Linked DNA regions of Homo sapiens: region 2 is linked to region 1. The links are contacts of gene promoters, found by promoter capture Hi-C in human tissues and cell types (Jung and others, 2019). All regions are on one chromosome and are shown on one strand. Each heading gives the region's core, a stretch centred on a gene start or on the middle of the fragment in contact. The rest is flanking DNA. Distances are from core to core; before and after follow the strand shown.

Region 1 (5,207 bases), core at 2,614-5,113:
GTTCTGCCAAGGGAGGTTCCTGCCTCCTTGTCCCACTGGACAGCTCTTCCTGCAGCCAGGGATGTGAGACAGGCCCTCTCCCTGGGCACATGGGTACAGACTTCTCACCCCATAGACAGCCACTACTGTCTTCCTTTCTTCCTCCAACCTGCCGAGCTCTTTCCCACCTGAGGGCCTTTGCCCTCATGGTTCCCTCTGCCTGGCTCCCCTTCCACATTTTTATACTCAAGCCTGGCTCCATCTCCTCCTCTCCTCCTGGGCTCTGCTCAAATGTCGCCTGAGACCTTCCCTAATCCTGGTCTAATGTGGCCTCCTTGCTATTTCCAATCTTACAGTAAGCTTTTTCCCCTTAATACAATTTATGGTTATTTGGTTTCTTGTTTATTTCACCTTGTTCTGATTCCCTCACCAGATGATAAGCTGCTGGGGAATAGGGTGACTGTTATTCCCTAGAGTCAAGCACAGTGCCTGGCACACAGTTGGCCCACAGTAAATAATGGTTGGGTGGATGGATAAATGAATTTTTTTCAAAGTCAAACTCCTTGAAAGCCAGTTTCCCAGGAGAGCAAGGGTTTTACCATTGAACCCATGGGCATGCCTTAAGAGGTCCATGGCAATCCTGGTACTGTGTGCAACATTGTTTGGCTTGGTGAGTTTTTTTTTTCCTAAAAGACAAACCAAAGCTTCCAGTGCATTTTCAAAATGTCCCCCAAGAAGGTAAAGAAGCTTGTTTTAAGGAAAGCTATTTGGAATAGTGAAGGAGGCTGCTAATGTGTGAGGCTCAGTGGTGTTCCACAGCGCCAGTGTCCAAGGAAAACAGTGTCTGAGGCAGTTCTGGGGAAGGCAAGACAGCCCACTGGGATGCCAGCTCAGCCTCTTCCTGGCTGGGAGCTTAGGCAGCCGCTGGGTTTCTCTGGGTCCCTGTCTCCTCACCTTTGTGGGATGAGGACGGAATGAGATAGACCACAGAGCAGGCTTCACACAGGGAACGGGTCCCAACGGAGAAACGCCAGCCCCGCCAGCCTCCAAGTATTTGCTCATTAAGGAGCTGTCCTCAATCCACCACCATCCTTCCTGAGAGCACCAGCGTGGCGTGCCCAGCCACCCTGGGTTTTTTCCTTGAATGTCAGCTAAAGAAACTCCACCTCCTCAGGGAGGTCTTTTTCCTGACATCCCTTTTCCCCCATTGGCCAGGTATCCCCTCCCTGTGCCCTCTCACAGTACCTCCCACCTCCTTCACCTCTGGGCCATATTTCATAATCATATGCTCAGTTGCAGGGATAATTGAAGACTGTGTGTCTCCCCACTGGTATGTGAGCTCCATGAGGACAAGGACCCTGCCTGACCACTCTCTGTGGGATCCCCAGAGCCCACGGCTCCTGACACTCAGTGTTCATTGATTTTAGTGGTTTTATTCATTGAATGAATGACAGCAAAGCCCACCATCTGAACAGCCACGCGCAAGCTCACTCCAGGACCATCACACCCTCACTGCCATCTCAGCCTCTCTATCATTCCTGCCTGCCTTCTGGAGTTGCATTTCATTCGTGAAAGTACTTGATAGAGGTGGCTCCTGCATTCATTGCACACGTGTCCCAGGAACCATCTTGGGATTCTCATGCTCCATGTCACTGACTCCATCAGCTTCCCTGGTTTACAGGTGAGGAAGGCTCAGAGGCGTAAGGACAAGGAGGAGGATCATCATAATAACATGGTTTTGGAGGACTGGCCCAAGCATGATTCGCTTTAATCCTCACTATAGCTCTGAGGTCTGCACTGTGATCCTTTTACAGACCTGGGAGCTGAGTCTGCCAAGAGACAGAGTCAGCAGTTGAACCCCGGTCTGCGTGACCCTAAAGCACATACTCTGGACTGCATGTGATCCTGCACCGAGTTGGCTTCAAATCCAGTCCCCAGCCCCTGAGCAGGGCCCTCTCATCCCTCCAAATCTGCTCTCTCTTGTCATGCATCAAGCTCTGAAAATCTATACCCTCCATGCTGTCCTTTCATTAGGCTCTGTGGCCCTGAGAACCACAGCCTGTGATGAGGTAGGACCAACAGCTCCTGCCCCATGTTAAGATGTCCAAAGAGCCAAGGACAACAGATTTGTTCCTCCCGACAATGCCCACTCTTCTCTGTTTTCTTGACAATAAATAACAAAATTCCAACCACTTACATAAGACCAGGAAGGCTAGAAAAATACATTTTGAAGTAAGTGATATTCTACAAACATCCCCAAGGGGAGCATGAACTCTGAGAAAGGACCTCAAACAGGGAAAGCCAACACCCTGAACCAAGGCTTTCTCAGTACAATCTCTTACAAAACCAGAGTGAATTGCCCAAGAATAGCCCCAAGGCTTCTGTGAAATTTGCAAAGGACGTTCCCATCCCTCATCCACATGGGACCCTCTATGTCGCCCGTAGTATGGGGAAACAGCACAGGGACAGTGACAAACGCCTTTGTCTCAGAGCTCACAGCAATGGCAAGGTGGGGCCCAGACATCCGAGACCTGTGCTGCTGCAGTGGAGTGGGGAAGAGAGAGCTGCAGGCAGTGCGGTCCAAGAGGATGCAGGGACCCTCCTGGGCCTGGGAGGTGTTGCATGGAATGTGGCTTTTGCTCTGTGTGCAGTAGGAAATGCTGGAGGGTTTTGAGCAGAGGAGTGGCATGGTGGTCTACCTTACATCTTTTTTTTTTTTTTTTTTTGAGTTGGAGTCTTGCTCTGTTGCCAGGCTAGAGTGCAGTGTAGTGTGATCTCAGCTCACTGCAACCTCTGCCTCCTGGGTTCAAGTGATTCTGCTGCCTCAGCCTCACAAGTAGCTGGGACTACAGGCATGTGCCACCACACCCAGCTAATTTTTTGTATTTTTAGTAGAGACGGGGTTTCACCATGTTGGCCAGGCTGGTCTTGAACTCCTGACCTCATGATACGCCTGCTTCGGCCTCCCAAAGTGCTGGGATTACAGGCATGAGCCACCGCACCCGGCCTACCTTACATCTTAAAATGACTGTTCAGGCTGCTGTGTGGAAGAGATTGTGGGTGGGCACAGTTAAAAGCTGGGAAACCAGCCGGGACCCACTGGCAATAATTCAGATCAAGCTGATGGTGGCTGAGGAGTAGTTGTTATATGTGGTCATGTTCTGGAAGTGTCAGCAGGATCTCCTGACAGATGGGTTGTGGGAGATGGGAAAAGGGGAGGAAAGGGCAGCTCCACCGGCTGGGAGTAGAACAACTAGATGGACTTGGCACCATTTCCTAAGAGTGAGGACAGGGGACTTAAACTGAATTCTCTCTGAATCCCAACCCCAGGGCTCCAAGGTCAACCTGATGCTTTGGCTTCAAGAGTCTGTAATTCTTATCCAGAAAGATAAGATCCATCCATCCAGTTATTCATTCATTTGTAGCATTAACAAACATTCACCAGTACTTACCATGTGGCAAACATGGGAGGCACTGTAGACATGAGGATTAATTAGACTCATACCCTGCCCTCAAGAAACTCATAATTCAGAGGAGATTCAGAGATCAACCATCTCCACTCATCAATTCAGTCGTTTGGTCACTCAACAAACATTCATTAACACTCAATTTCTGACAAGCAAGTATCGTGGTAGGGATTGAAGTGGTTGGTCATGCCCTTAAGAAAGTCCTAACCCAATTGGAGAGCCTGGGGTTAGCCATCCTCACTCAAATGTATTCATTCATTGGTTCACTAAAGAGTCACTAACATCCAGCCTGTGCCAGGGTCTGGGAGAGGACTCCTGTTGGATGACCCAACAATAGACTCTGGTGAGTGTCTCCAAGCAACAAGGCCTCCCTCTGGAGCCCTGGCCTCCTCCCAGGGTTCCACATGTTGCTCTCCCAATGTGAGCAAGCCCTGGTGGCAGCGCCAGGGTCCAGTGCAGCCCCTCCCCACAGCATGCTGGGGGCTAATTCTGATGTCATCTTTCTGCAGAAAACCATTAGACCATCCCTCCAGACTGCCACCCTCAAAGCCGTCTGCCCAGGCCCCATCTGACACTCTTGACATCTGCAGGTCCCAGACCCTATGATGTGTCCACTCTGGAGGCTCCTCATCTTCCTCGGGTTGCTGGCCTTGCCCTTGGCACCACACAAGCAGCCTTGGCCTGGCCTGGCCCAAGCCCACAGAGACAACAAATCCACCCTGGCAAGAAGTAAGCTAAGCCCCGGGCTCTGCCTGCTGCCTACGGGGCTGGGGAGGTGGGAAGGTGCCATCTGGGCTCCACTGCTAACCCGCTGGGTGACTTCAGGTTAGTCACTTTCCCTCTTCTCTTTTTCTTAGACCTCAAGTACAGAAAATTGAGGTTGTGTTGATCATATGCCAATTTCTAGCACATCCTCATTGGCACAAATCACTGCAAGGTCCCCCTTTTGTTTTATTTTCTTATTTTCCCCCTTTATGACTTATTCTCACCCCATATCCCTACTGCCTTGGCAGGCATTGCAGCGTGTTTAATGGATGTACTTAAATATGCCTGTGTCCTTGTATGTACAGTACTTTAATTTACATAAATTGTATTGTACTTTAATTTACATAAATTGTATAGTGTTGGGTTTCACTCAGCACTATGCTGTTGACATCTATGTTGCTTCAGCTGGTGCAGAAAGAGCCATAAGATTCATCCACCTCAGTTTATTTGGCTGCTCCCCTCTGGATGGACATGCAGGTTGTCTCTAACTCTCCATGATTATAAACTACACTGAGATGAACCTCCTTGCAAGTGTCCCTGTTACAGCCTGTGGGAGAATTTCCCTGGGATAAACCCAGAAGGAGAGTGGTTGGGTCCTGGGGTAGAGGTGAACTCAATTTAACCAAAACTGCCAGAATCCTCTCTAGAATGGCTGTGTGGTCTACACGTGCTCCAGTAAGAAATGAGCATACCTGTCTCCCCATGTTCCCCAGCACTGCCGAGTACTGAGCTGTATCAGTCAGCTAGGGCTGTCCTCACAAGACACCACAGACTGGGAATTAAACAACACACATTCATTTTCTCACAGTTCTGGAGGCTGGAAGTCCAAGATCAAGATGCAAATAGGGTTGGTTTCTGGTGAGGCCTGTCTTGCTGGCTTGCAGACGGACACCTTCTCGATGTCTCCATACAGCCTTTTCTCTGTGCATGCAGAGAAAGAGATCTGTTTCTTCTTATAAGGACACCAATCCCATCAGTTTAGGGCCATACCCTAAT
Region 2 (5,180 bases), core at 2,062-4,561, 140 kb before region 1:
CATCTTTCAAGATTCAACTGTTACCTCACTGGAAAGGCCTTCCCTCACCGTACAGCAGGCATGCTTGAGGGGCTCTCCAAGCTCCTGCAGCCCCAGAGCTTCCTCTCCTACATTACCAATTGCCCTCAATTTTAATACTGTGGTTCTCTGCTGTTCAAGAAAACAGCAAAACCTTCAAATTACCTTCTCAGGGCTCAGCACAGACCCTGACACACAGTAGGGCCTCAGTAAGGGTTAGTGGACGGAACAGATGGATGGAGGCAGACCCGTCCTCAAGCTCCTTCTGCCGATTGGGGGTGACTTCTGCCTGCTTTGCCCATGCAGGTCATGACTGTGCGTGCCCAGCTGGCTCCCTCGGCTACCAAGCTGCACATCTCCCTGTCCCTGGAACGGTAACTTGGGATCCTGGGGACAGGATCTTGTTCTTGTCTTTAGGAACAAGAATTAGGGGCTGACAGGATCCGCCTCCCGTTTCTTGAGCATCAGCGCAATTCCAGGTGTTTTTCCAGCATCCTCCTTGCCTTCAGGACCCGCCAGGGAGGAGACAGTGTTAGTCCATGTTATAGACAAGGAATCGGGGGCTCAGAGCAGCAGGCTCAAGAGTGGGCTTCTTCCACGGCACCCTTTTGCTGCTGAAAACCTGCCTCTGAAAGATAAACCTGCCGCCAGGATGTGGAGTCCAAACTCCTGAGTTATCAGCCCCAGAGGCTAACCAAGAGACAACCGGCCTTGAGTGTCAGGAAATGTGTTGTTATTTATGTGGACTTGTTACTTGTTACTTCTCTATTCTCCTCACCCCTGTGGTAACTAGGCGTCCATCAAGATAATCATAATGACCAGAATGATGGTGTTGGTGACAGTCCTTCATCTACACGCACAGTACTTTACAGTTTGCAAAGCACCATCTACATGCACAGTACTTTACAGTTTGCAAAACGCCGTGCTGGCCCAGGCTCACACGGCAGGCCGTCCCTAGAGCAGGTCTGCAGTCTGGGCCTCAGTGCTGTCACCATGGCAGGGCCCCGGCCTGTCTGTCCCTCCCCTGGCAGTAGGGACTTTCCTGGAGATTGCTGAGACCTGACGTCCTACGCCACAGGCACCCAGTGCTCCTCTGACTCCGTCTTAGCACCCCCACAGGCTCCTCAGGCCACTGCTGGCCTCTGCCTTCCATTGTTGCCCCATTGCCGACTTTGATGGAGGGCCTCGCCTGCTGCCTGGGTGCACCTCCACTTCCTGATGGCAGTTCACGCCTCAGTCTTTTAGGAGGTAGAGATGCGTGCCCAGGCTCTGGCCCTGAATCTGCACTTGGGCCAGATATGATCCATCAGTGAGTTGCTGCCTTGAGTGAGCACCTGCTGTATGCAAGGCACTCTGTGTCCAGTGCTCAGTCTGGGGGAGGTCACTCCTCTGAATGGTTCAGCCACCTGCCCAGGGTCAAATAGCTGGGAGTCAGACAAAGGCGCCAAGGCCAGAGGTGGTGGTCATGATGCCTCAGAAGGGAGGTTAGGTCCCTTTGGGTCCATTTTACAGGTAGGAAAACTGAGTCTCTGAGTCAAGGCTGGATAGAGGCAGAGTGTTGGGCTGGTAATCCTGTTTCCTGATGATGAGAGCTATGGTGGGGCAGGCTGGGGGTGGGACAGGGGTGGTTGGGGGTAGCGGGGGCCCCAGCATCTCTCTTCTCTCCACCAGGCTCAGTGTCAAGGTGGCCTCCTCCTTTACCCATGCCTTTGACGTAAGTTCCTGGGAGGGTGAGGGGCTTGGCAGTGATGAGAGTCTTCAGGTGTGGCATGGAAAGGGGGTGGCCATGAGTCATGGGCCATATGACTGAGCTGACCTCAGGACTGGGATCCTCCCCAATTAAGCCAGAGTGGGCAAATATCAGGGCGGGTGTGCGTGAGAGAGAGCAGGGGGTGTGGGCAGTGGGGAGAGAGAGAGAGAAACAGTGATCATCTTAGGAAAGTGAATCTCATGATCTTCCACGGTCTTGGAACCTCACAAAGTTGTGGACATCTAGAACCTCACAAGGGTCCATCATTCTGGAACTTCTCCCAAGTAATAAATTTCCCGAACTCAGCAAGTTCCATTTCAGAGCTCACAGAGCCCCGAGGTTCCTGCTTCTTACAGAGTTCTGAGGTTCTGGAATCTCACCATGGGCTCAGGTTCTAGAACATTCTCAGAGTCCCTAAACTGACAGGAATCTAAGGTCAGACCCCATAGACTGGAGCTGGGCACATTTCCTTCCCTCTTTCTTAGGCACTGCCCACCTCCAGCCCCAACAGAGTCTTATAGGAAGGCACTTCTTCCAAGCTCATGGGGCCTGGGGTAAAGCCAGCCTAAATCACAGAATCTCTTTCGAGGTCACTGGTGGACAGCCCAGGCCACCCCCAAGTGCCCAGTGCCTGCCAGGAGCTGTGTCCTCAGGCTTGGGGGAGGCTGAGGCAGCTGGGCCCCTGGGTTTCTCTCCCTGGGAACGGGATGCTGCTGCCTGTAAAGCCACACCCCAGAGCACCACCCCCACCACCCTGTGTGTTCTGTTGCAGGGATCGCGTTTAGAAGAATGGCTCAGCCATGTGGTCGGGGCAGTGTATGCACCAAAGCTTAACGGTATGGCAGGTTTTGCTCTCTTGGACACATGGAGTGTCTGAATTTGGTATTGTCTAGTCTGTTGCCTCTCTTTATGGTTCTGATGGGGACACTGAGGCCAGAGAGAGAGGTCGATCCTCATTTGCAAGATGCAGAAACTGAGGCACCAATTTTTCCATTTAAATGACATTGATTAGCACCTACATCTTGCCAGCCTATGGACTTCAAGCGCTGATCTGACCTCAGTCCTGCCTTAAGCTCCCACAGTCTAGTAGGAAATAATCATATAAACAAATGATTAGAATATAGATGACCCAGAGTGTGTAAGGGATTGATGAAGCCTTTAGGAGGCTTGACACGGGGGCACCACTGACACAATACAGAATAGGGACATTTTTGTTTGGGTGTAGGAGGATGAGTAGGAGTTTGCCAATAAGAAGCTGATTCTGTGAGAAGAGAACTGGCTGGCTAGTGAAAGTGATGGAATAGGGTCAGCAGGGTCCGAGGGTTCCTAGGGTCCAAGAGCTCCCCACCAATGTACCTTTGTTTTCAACGATTCTCTTTTCACAGTGGCCCTGGATGTTGGAATTCCCCTGCCTAAGGTTCTTAATATCAATTTTTCCAATTCAGTTCTGGAGATCGTAGAGGTGAGCCTTCTCTGCAGATACGGCCCAGGTGGGCCTTAAGCTTGTCTCTGGAAAGCTCTGCTTGAAACTAATGAGGGGAATGCTTTGCTTCATCCTCTTGTCTGTCCCTGATCCATTTTCTAAATTTCTCAGTGAGTTACAAATTGCCTAACTTAGGAATGGCAAATATATGACATGTGTGCTACTACTCCTCCATTTCTTGCCCATGGCAGACATCATCAATCAATCACGGAGTTCTTTCCCATTGGATTCAGAGACATGTCTGGCCTCTAGAATGGAACCTAAGATTCACTCACAGAATCACAGTTCCCCTGGTCCAACAGCAACAAATACATATGCCATCTCTCCCTTATCTTGTGTCTGCAGCAGATATGACCAATGGATCATGACCCTTTTTCTTGTGGAATATTGATATGGCCTCACAATCCTTTTCAAACCAGCCCAACTTTGGGTGGTGGAATAGCTCTAGGAGGTGGGCAGAGCAGAGAGTTCTGTACCCATTTCTCAGATGAGGACCAAGGCTGAAGTAGGTCAGATTTCTGGCCCAAGTTCACCAGTAAATTAATAGCAGAAATGGCAGTTGAACTTGAGTCTATTAAGTCCTCAAGTCAGAGCCTGTCCCACACTGGATGTCATTTTTTCATCATTCATTTATTCATTTAATGAGTGCCTGCTGTGTTCCAGGTACAGGGCCAATCCCAGGGCAGGGGAGTAAAGATGGCTGCAGGGATGGGGCATTGCAGAGACTCAGGGGTGTAACCAAGAGCGGTTGTTCCTTACAGAATGCTGTTGTGCTGACCGTGGCATCCTGAGGCTGAGACATGGCCACCAGCCTTCCCTGTTGACTACTAGAGACCACCTGTCTACTCTGCCTCAATTTCCCTCCCAGTCTCTAGCTGATGTTGGTGACAGTAAAAATGCCCTCTGGCCCTGAAGCACTACTCCAAGTTTGGGGTGGGAACTGCCTGGCTAATCATAGAACTGCCTCAGAGAGAGCTCTGGGGCCTCAGTAGCAAACCCTGAGCTTTCAATAAATGACTCCTGTATCTCGGTATCTCCTGGCTGGTTTATTCCCCAGTCACGTAGGACTTGACTTGGCCTTTGCCTCCAGTGCCCTCCTTAGCTCCAGGTAGGAGCTTCTGGGAGGTGAGGGGACTCAGGGCCTTGTCATTGTAGCTTTGAGTCCCAAACTGACCTTGTTGGCCTGGGCAGCCTCTGTGTCCTGTTCTGCCTTCCTCTCTGTCCCTGCCCCCCTTGCCTCCAGCTCTCTCTCTCTCTCTTTCTCTAAATACTTCTACTTTTCACTCTCTCTCTCTCTGAGTCTGCATTTTTCTCTGTTTCTGACTTTGGGATGCTTATCAGAAGTGACATCTGAGCTGAATTTTGAAGGGAGAATAGGAGCTTTCCAGGAAACAAAGGCACTAGCACCCCAGGAAGCAAGGATGAGTGAGACTTGTTCTTGCCCTGTGGTGTGGGGGGGTCCCTATTGGCTGCACATCAGACATGGACACAGCTCAGAACAGAGCTGTGCCAAACGCTCTTGGTGCAGATGGGGAGACTGAAGCCAGAGCAGGGCTTGGCTGGCCCTGGTCCACACAGCGGCAGAGTTGGGATGAGAGACTAGGGGTCCTGCCTCTAGGTCCTGGGCTTCTCCCCACTGCTTACGATGGGCACCTTTGGTGAAAAATATCCCCAAGTTGGCACTTACAGATGGCCTGAGTGAAGAAGTGCCAACCAAGTTTTGATAACTGGCTCAGAGGATTTGAGGCTAGGCAATAGGTAGGGGAGACTTGGAGCTCATCTGAAGATTTATCCACAACTCATTCATTCAGCCGACCAGCCAGCCAGCCAGCCTCCCATCCATCCATCCATCCATCCATCCATCCATCCATCCATCCATCCCCCCTCCCATCCAGCCTCCCATCCATCCATCCACTCACCCTCCCATTT

The links. The method cuts DNA at HindIII sites, captures the fragments that hold promoters and counts their contacts. A contact is called where the count stands out against the background at its distance.
Region 2: a contact is called between a fragment that was not itself captured here and the fragment with the promoter of BPIFA3 in region 1, in 2 of the 25 tissues and cell types used here (IMR-90 fibroblasts and lymphoblastoid cells).

The regions. Positions count from the first base shown.
Region 1 is chr20:33,213,489-33,218,695 of GRCh38, forward strand. BPIFA3 (BPI fold containing family A member 3) reads left to right here and starts at 3,864. Exons shown (of 7, transcript NM_178466.5): 1 at 3,864-4,175. The coding sequence starts at 4,049. The HindIII fragment of the contact is 14,641 bases long and covers 512-5,207 here.
Region 2 is chr20:33,069,564-33,074,743 of GRCh38, forward strand. BPIFB3 (BPI fold containing family B member 3) reads left to right here. Exons shown (of 16, transcript NM_001376932.3): 12 at 325-392; 13 at 1,690-1,732; 14 at 2,541-2,604; 15 at 3,154-3,230; 16 at 4,013-4,284. The coding sequence ends at 4,042. Among named protein-coding and RNA genes, the nearest start is that of BPIFB4, 7.5 kb to the right of the region's middle. The HindIII fragment of the contact is 5,429 bases long and covers 598-5,180 here.